2 separate regions of the Homo sapiens genome follow, and region 1 is linked to region 2. The links are contacts of gene promoters, found by promoter capture Hi-C in blood cells and fetal thymus (Javierre and others, 2016). All regions are on one chromosome and are shown on one strand. The core of a region is centred on a gene start or on the middle of the fragment in contact, and the rest is flanking DNA. Distances in the headings are between cores, read along the strand shown. Region 1 overlaps QDPR (quinoid dihydropteridine reductase). Region 2 holds the start of FAM200B (family with sequence similarity 200 member B).

Region 1 (3,687 bases), core at 473-2,972, 1.8 Mb before region 2:
TTCCTTGGTAATCTCAATACTGATGTTTTATGATCCTTATCTGGTTTTTATAACAAATTTTTAAAATTTTAGAAGTGATGCATGTATGATATAGAAAATACAAATAAGCAAAAAGAAAAGGGAAATCATTTATAGTTCTACCATATAGTTAATCATTTATTTATATTTCCTTCCAGTCTGTCTCTCCAAAATATACATGTATAAATCTATACATTTTGAACATAAAACTGTGAGCACAACTCTGCTACTCATTTGCTCTTTCTAAAGTGTCAGTTTGACATAGATTGGAATGTAAAAGCCAGATGACTTATTTTAGCACTTCATTTTTGTTGTTCTTATTTTTCTCACTGTGGTCTCAATGTTCCCATACCTAAGTCATACAGATTGACCTTAGTGAATTTAATAGTGAAAGTTGACATGGCATCATTGTTAGTTGCCAGGCACCATTCTCAGTGCTTTATTTTCATTAACACGTGTAGTCTTCATTACATCCCCAAACAAAGCTTCTAATTTTATCCTCCTTTTAAATGGGGGTAACTGAGGCACAGAAAGGCCCTGGTATTTGTCCAAGGTCAAACAGATAAAAGGTTGCATAGCCACTATTTGGACATGGGCAGTGGGGGTCTGACGGCTGTTCTCTTAACTGCTATGCTAAGCTGCCTTAAAGCAAAATAGTTTCATGTGAATAAAGTAATAAAGGCCAAAATGGCTGGGTGCAGTGGCTCATGCCAGTAGTCCCAGCACTTCAGGAGGCTGAGGCAGGAGGATCACTTGAGCCCAGGAGTTTAAGACCAGCCTGTGCAACATGGCGAAACCCCATCTCTACAAAAAAATACAAAAATTAGCTGAATGTGGTGGCACACAACTGTAGTCCCAGCTACTCGGGAGGCTGAGGTGGGAGGGTGGCTTGAGGCTGGAAGGCAGAGGTTGCAATGAGCCGAGATCATGCCACTGCACTCCAATCTGGGCAACAGAGCCCAACCTTCTCTAAAAAACAAACAAAAAATAAAGTAATAAAAGCCAAAACTAAATGGAAGGGCGGTTCCTGGGCTTGGAGAGCAGCAGCCCTGCCAGGTGCGGGTCTCTGTAATTGGTGTCTCTTCAGTGTCTCTTCTGCTCTGATTAATTATAGGTTTCTAATGTCCCTGTAGATTGAATGTGGAGGTTGTCCCCACCCAAGGCTTGGCAGTAGAGTGCATCTCTAAGACAGAGATTGAGAGATGCGTTTGTGCTTATAAACTTTTCTTTGAAAATCTCTTCCTTCTTCTACTACTCCACCAAAGGAAGAGGAGTACCTTCTCCACCATACCCCCAACCTTAAGAATTTCTGAACAAACAGCATAACATTCAGTTTTGTCATGAAACTGGGGAAAGAGGTAATCAACTGAAATGTTCCTACTGGGAGAGACACAGGGTGTTGATTTAAGTCTTTTTTAAAAAAAACTAAATGTAGAGATGAGGTCTTGTTATGTTGCCCGGGCTGGTCTTGAACTCCTGGGCTCAAGTGATCCTTCTGCCTCTGCCTCCCAAAGTGCTGGGACTACTGGCATGAGCCACTGTGCCCAGCCTGATTTAAATCTTAAGAAGATTGGGCCAGGCGTGGTAGCTCAGTCCTGTTGTCCCAGCACTCTGAGAGGCCGAGGCAGGCGAATCACCTGAGGTCAGGAGTTCGAGACAAGCCTGGCCAACATGGCGAAACCCCATCTCTACTAAAAATACAAAAATTAGCTAGGTGTGGTGGCAGGCGCCTGTAATCCCGGCTACTCAGGAAGCTGAGGCAGGAGATTCGCTTGAACCGGGGAGGTGGAGGTTGCAGTGAGCCGAGATGGCGCCATCGCACTCCAGCCTGGGAGACAAGCGAAACTCCATCTCAAAAAAAAAAAAAAAAAAAAAAGAAATCTTAAGAAGATTGATCTTAATGAAGCAATTGGGATTTGTCATCTCAGCCATTCCAGAGAAATACGGAAGAGTCGTGGTGGATGGCCAGAATTGCCTGTCCTGACAGACTGTTCTTTTCATAAATTATAACAAGAGGGCATACATATATTTTCAATGCTTTAAAATCTCAAACAAACAGAAGCAGAGAGATCATTAAAGTGAACCCCCATGTACTTAATATTACCAACATATTGCTATTGACTGTATTTTTTCTTGGCTCATGATTTTTCTTACAATTTTTCGTTGGCATTTTTTTCAGAGTTGCAGTTAAAGGGATTTTTGGATTGGGGTGGGGAAAACAGGGTTGATCTTCTTTTTGGATTATAATTCTGTGATTTGTGAAGAGAGTCTGGAAAGAAATACACCAGGATGTTAACTATGTGCAGGCAGTGAAGCTCTAGGTGCTTTTTTCTTTTTTTTTTAACCTTTCCCTACTTTTATTTATTAATTGTTGTATTTCAAGGGATGCTCATGTCTCTACCTTTCAGAATGTATACACAGAGACTCTAGATTGTTTTTTAAAAATCACACTGAAGTGTACTTGGGCTTCAATGTCTAAAATGCTCATCAGAGCTTAGTCTTCCGTCTAATTCTCAAAGCATTAATTGCCAGGTACTGTAAACTGGCTTAAAAAGAAGAGAAAAAGAAACTGAGTATCCGTAAAGATGCTAGCCTGTGTTGGCTTACCTTACAGTTTATACATTTTTTTGTTCTTGTGTTGAAGGTGACTGCTGAGGTTGGAAAGCTCTTGGGTGAAGAGAAGGTGGATGCAATTCTTTGCGTTGCTGGAGGATGGGCCGGGGGCAATGCCAAATCCAAGTGTGAGTCCTTTCCTGAGTCACTCATTTGTTCTGCTCTGCTCTTTTTCCAGCTGACAAGGATTGGGTTTGCACTAGGTGACAGGCCAGCTGTTTTTTTGTGTATATCCCGGAATCTTTACAGTTGCTCGGGGAGAGAGTGATTAATGCTCTTAATCCATTTTACGGATAAAGAAGAAGCTTCCCCTGGAGGACGTGAGGGGACGGGGGGCATTGAGTTTGAGTTTAAAGTAGAGGCAGAATGAAATCAGCATGGCCTGTGCCCCAGGCCATGTGCTATTCAGGCATTGGAGGATGTGTAGGAAGTGCAGAGATCATTTAGAAAGTCAGAAGAAGTCAAACTTGAGATTTTACTAAAGCTGATTCCTTTTTTCATCTTTTCTTTTCCCTTCCCTTCCCTCCCCTCCCCTCTACTCCCCTACCCTTTTTCTTAAGACAGAGTCTTGCTCTGTCACCAGGCTGGAGTGCAATGGTGTAATCTCGGCTCACTGCAACCTCTGCCTCCCAGGTTCAAGCGATTCTCCTGCCTCAGCCTCCCGAGTAGCTGATATTACAGGTGCCCACCACCAAGCCCAGCTAATTTTTTGTATTTTTAGTAGAGACGGGGTTTCACCATGTTGCCCAGGCTGGTCTTGAACTCCTGACCTCAGGTGATCCACCCCCTTCAGCCTCCCAAAGTGCTGGGGTTACGGGCGTGAGCCAGTGCGCCTGGCCCATTTTTCAACTTTTCATTATGAACATTTCTAAGCATACCAGAAAAGTTGAAAGAACAGTTCAATGAACACCCTTATATGCTCCATCTAGATTCAGTAACTGTTAACATTTGCTGTACTTGAGTTGAGCTTGTTTTCTTGTGCCTGTGTACTTTGTGCATTGTTTTTTGTTAACTGTTTGAAAATAAGTTTACACCTCACTATATTTCCGCGTGTTT
Region 2 (3,745 bases), core at 830-3,329:
TATGGTAGTTACTCAATGCATATGAGAGAATGAGAAAATTAATGACACCTGTAGTAAACTGTACAATGTACACTCTATTTTTATCACAGTCAGTAACAAATAAGTTATCCAACTATATTTGGACAACTGGGAAATATGTAAGACGAAGGCTAATAAAACATATTATTTAAAACAGGATTGTTAAAGATTCTACTTCATAATAAACTGCTTATGTTAAGAAATAGTAGAAACAATGATCCTATAAAAACATACATGTAAATTTAGATTTAGCTTTTAAAGCTTAGAACCTAAATCTACCTGAAAAAAAGAAATATACATTAAAAAAGTATCTTATTTTTATATTACTATATATGGATCATTTATCTCTTAGAAGCAATTGTCTTTTAACTATTCCATTCTTTCATATTCTTACTATTCACGTTTCAATCCCCCCTTGAAAGTTTGTAACACTAGTTCAGTTACTATTGTATTAAAAAGATATTTTTAAAGGGTTTACTCTCCCTCCTAAATCAGACAGTTCATCTATAGTAACAGCAGTGGCAGTATATTAGGGAACAGGTCTGGTAGATGTGGTGATGAAAGCATGGGGAAGTTTTTTTTTAACTCAATAGGATGTGAGGTATCATCTAAGTAAGAGGCCGAAGTAGAAAATGTTGCAAGTTTGTCAGAAGAAAATATGAAATATTAATAATTGTTAAGGAATGTGATAATATGATGGACTAGGAAAATGTTTTTGGATTTTTAGTCTGGCTGGTTGTCTTACTTGCTTAATGCAATGATTGTTATTGTTACAATGCTTGATAGTCTAAAATTCCCCGTCACTAATCTTTTATATCCTAAGATATATCTCTAGTGCGCTGTATCATCTTCTGAAAATACAGCTCTAATCAGCTTCCTCATAACTGGAAAAGCATTTAATGGCGCCGAGCTTGTGTAAGCTCTTCAGGATAATATCCTTTAAGCTTAAGCCTCATCTTTCCAGGTTTCTCCTTCATCACATGATCTCCATACATTCTACATTTCAGTACTAAAAGTATGGAAATTCTTGAAATAGTTCATGCACTTTCATGTCTCTGCTTTTGGCTAGTATTCCTTTTGCCTGGAATACTCTTGTTGGGTCACATGAAGTCCTATTTATTCTTTTCTACTTAGTTCAAATGCTACAGCAGCCATGCATTCAACTAACATTTAGCTACCTACAGTGCCTAAAGTATGTCAGGCACTGGAGATACTAAACAATGAACAGTGACATATTAAAATAACAGAATATCTGTTCAGCTATTAAGATGAATAAGGTGGAGTTACACAACACTGACAAATCTCAAAAACATTATGTAAAACAAGCTAGCTGCAAAAAGATGTACACATTACAGATTGCATAAAGGTGGTTAGGAGAGTGGTTTCCTTAGGCAAAAGGAAAGAGAATGAGACGGGGTAGAGCTGACAAAGGACTTCAATCACTTATATAATCATTTATTTCTCCAATTCAGTGGTGAGTACACATGTGTTATAGTTTTGTTTCTACCTTTTTTCTGTCTAAAATCGTCTATTTAAAAAAAGCATCTTTAAGGCTGGATACCTTCCTGAAGGCACTGGAAATCTGTCATACTGCCACTAACTTAAAATTACCTTCCACCTCTTGCATTTCCCTTTGTTTCCTGTTTTGACATTGCGCACACATTAGTTAGTACACTAGGCCTTAAGAGTGGAAACTGCCAGGTACCAGCTTTAGCTAGATTAAAACATGACCCTCTTCCCAGGAGACTCCTGACCGGTTTTCTCGTCCTCCAGGGACCCAGCTAGGATTTCAATGAACTTTGGCCTGAACCCCTCGGCCGACCCTAGAATAATCGCCCTTCAGGCCCGGATTGCTTCTGCTCTCACCTTCCCTCAATTCATACGGGGGGCAAAACCAGACTGTATTTCCCGCAACGAACCCTGGAATGCTTCGCTTTAGCGGACTCCGGTCCACTCCCATCAGAGGATGCCCTTCTTTCGCCTCACCTCCAGCCCAGCCGCAGCGACCCGGCCGGGCCCAGCGCTGCAAGCCTCAGGTCTCTCCAGCAGAGCTGCGCCTCTGCTCTCCCCACACTTCCCTCCGCAACACCACTTCCGGCCTACCTCACAAATTCCCCATTCCAGCCGAAAAGAACTGGATCGGCCCTCTGCGCATGCGTGAGACCGGGGCGGTGTCCGGGGGTGCCGGGAGCGGGCGGTGCAGGCTCCACTTTTCCACTTCCCTACGCTCTGTCGGCAGTCTCGCGGGATTTCCGCCTCTCGCGGGAGTTATTTGAATGCCAGGGCGGTAACGACTCCCTAGGCGCCTGGGGCCCTCTGACAAGAAACCCTAGGAGACACCGCGGAGAACTCTGCCTCTGAGCTGGTGGGCGGGCCGGATGTAGCCGAGCGCGGACAGGGCTAGTCCGGACAGAGTCCCAGAGCCATGGGAGCGAAAAGAGACTGCTGCGGATTAAGGAGGCCTTTCGGTTGGCGCAGCAGCCACACCACAACCAGGCGAAGCAGGTAGTGGCGCTGAATCGCTCCTGCCGCGGGGTAAGCGCTCCCGGCCCGCGCCCGCCCCAGCCCCGACCTGGCGGGGCCAGGACGCTGGTTCATACACTCCAAGGTGATTTTCATAGTCTTTGTGGAAGAATTAGAGAATTTTGAACTTTGATATCATTGCACGTGTTTACTTATTTAGAGAATCGCATTGTGTTTAATAATCATAGTATTCCTGTGCGACTCTTTAGGTTAGCAGATCATTGATTTTTAACATAAAACTGCATTTCATTAAATAGATTTAAATATGTATGTATATTTCTGTCCTCTAATGATTGTAACAAAGCAGATTTCTTGATCATTAACAAGATAGGTTCGTGCAAATAAGTGCATCTTTGTCACAAACCAAATTTTTTTGTGGTTGAGATATATATTTATATATATATGTGAAACAAAAAACATATAAAGGAGAATATATATATATTCTTATATATATAATATATACTGCTTTATTTTTTTGGGTTGACATATATATGTCATATATAGTTTTTTTTTAAATTCTACCTTAAACAGGGAAACATGTTAGATACAGGAGCTTGAATTTCAACTCTGAAACTTAATGCGACTTTATCAGCATTTCTCTTTCTCAAGCTACTTACTTCTTGTAGGATTACACAGTCAAATTTTTAAAAATTTTTGATTCTCCAACTGGATTTTTTTTTTTAATTTTTGAGACGGAGTCTCACTCTCTCGCCCAGGCTGGAGTGCAGTGGCGCAGCCTCGGCTCACTGCAACCTCAGCCTCCTGGTTCAAGCGATTCCCCTGCCACAACCTCCCGAGTAGCTGGGATTACAGGCGACCGCCACCATGCCAGGCTAATTTTTGTATTTTTCAAAAATACAAAGACGGGGTTTCACCATTTTGGCCAGGCTGGTCTCGAACTCCTGACCTCAGGTGATCCACCCACTTGGGCCTCCCAAAGTGCTGGGATTACAGGGGTGAGCCACTGCACCCAGCCTCTCCCACTGGATTTTTAAAGCTGTTTTTTGATTAGCAAATATTTCTTTTACATGGCTCAAACTACATGAAAAGAAATGCAGCAAGAAACACTTCCTCCCTAGTCCCTATCCAGTACCATTCCTAATAGTCTTCACGGGTAATCATTTTAAATTAGTTTCTTGTTTATCCTTCCGGTCTTCATGCAGAGATACAAGCAGATGAGAATATACAGTCTTATTTCACTCGG

What was found. Contacts are between HindIII fragments. The CHiCAGO score rates a contact against its expected background, and 5 or more counts as called.
Region 1: a fragment that was not itself captured here is called in contact with the fragment with the promoter of FAM200B in region 2 in 1 of 17 cell types (activated CD4 T cells); the score reaches 5.8 in activated CD4 T cells.

The regions. Positions count from the first base shown.
Region 1 is chr4:17,503,451-17,507,137 of GRCh38, reverse strand. QDPR (quinoid dihydropteridine reductase) reads left to right here. Exons shown (of 7, transcript NM_000320.3): 3 at 2,663-2,759. Among named protein-coding and RNA genes, the nearest start is that of QDPR, 6.8 kb to the left of the region's middle. The HindIII fragment of the contact is 2,433 bases long and covers 506-2,938 here.
Region 2 is chr4:15,680,161-15,683,905 of GRCh38, reverse strand. It overlaps FAM200B (family with sequence similarity 200 member B), which reads right to left and starts at 2,079. Exons shown (of 2, transcript NM_001145191.2): 1 at 2,005-2,079. It also overlaps a transcript of FBXL5 not described here. RefSeq lists enhancers at 1,810-1,859, 1,870-2,109, 2,280-2,579. The HindIII fragment of the contact is 4,207 bases long and covers 965-3,745 here.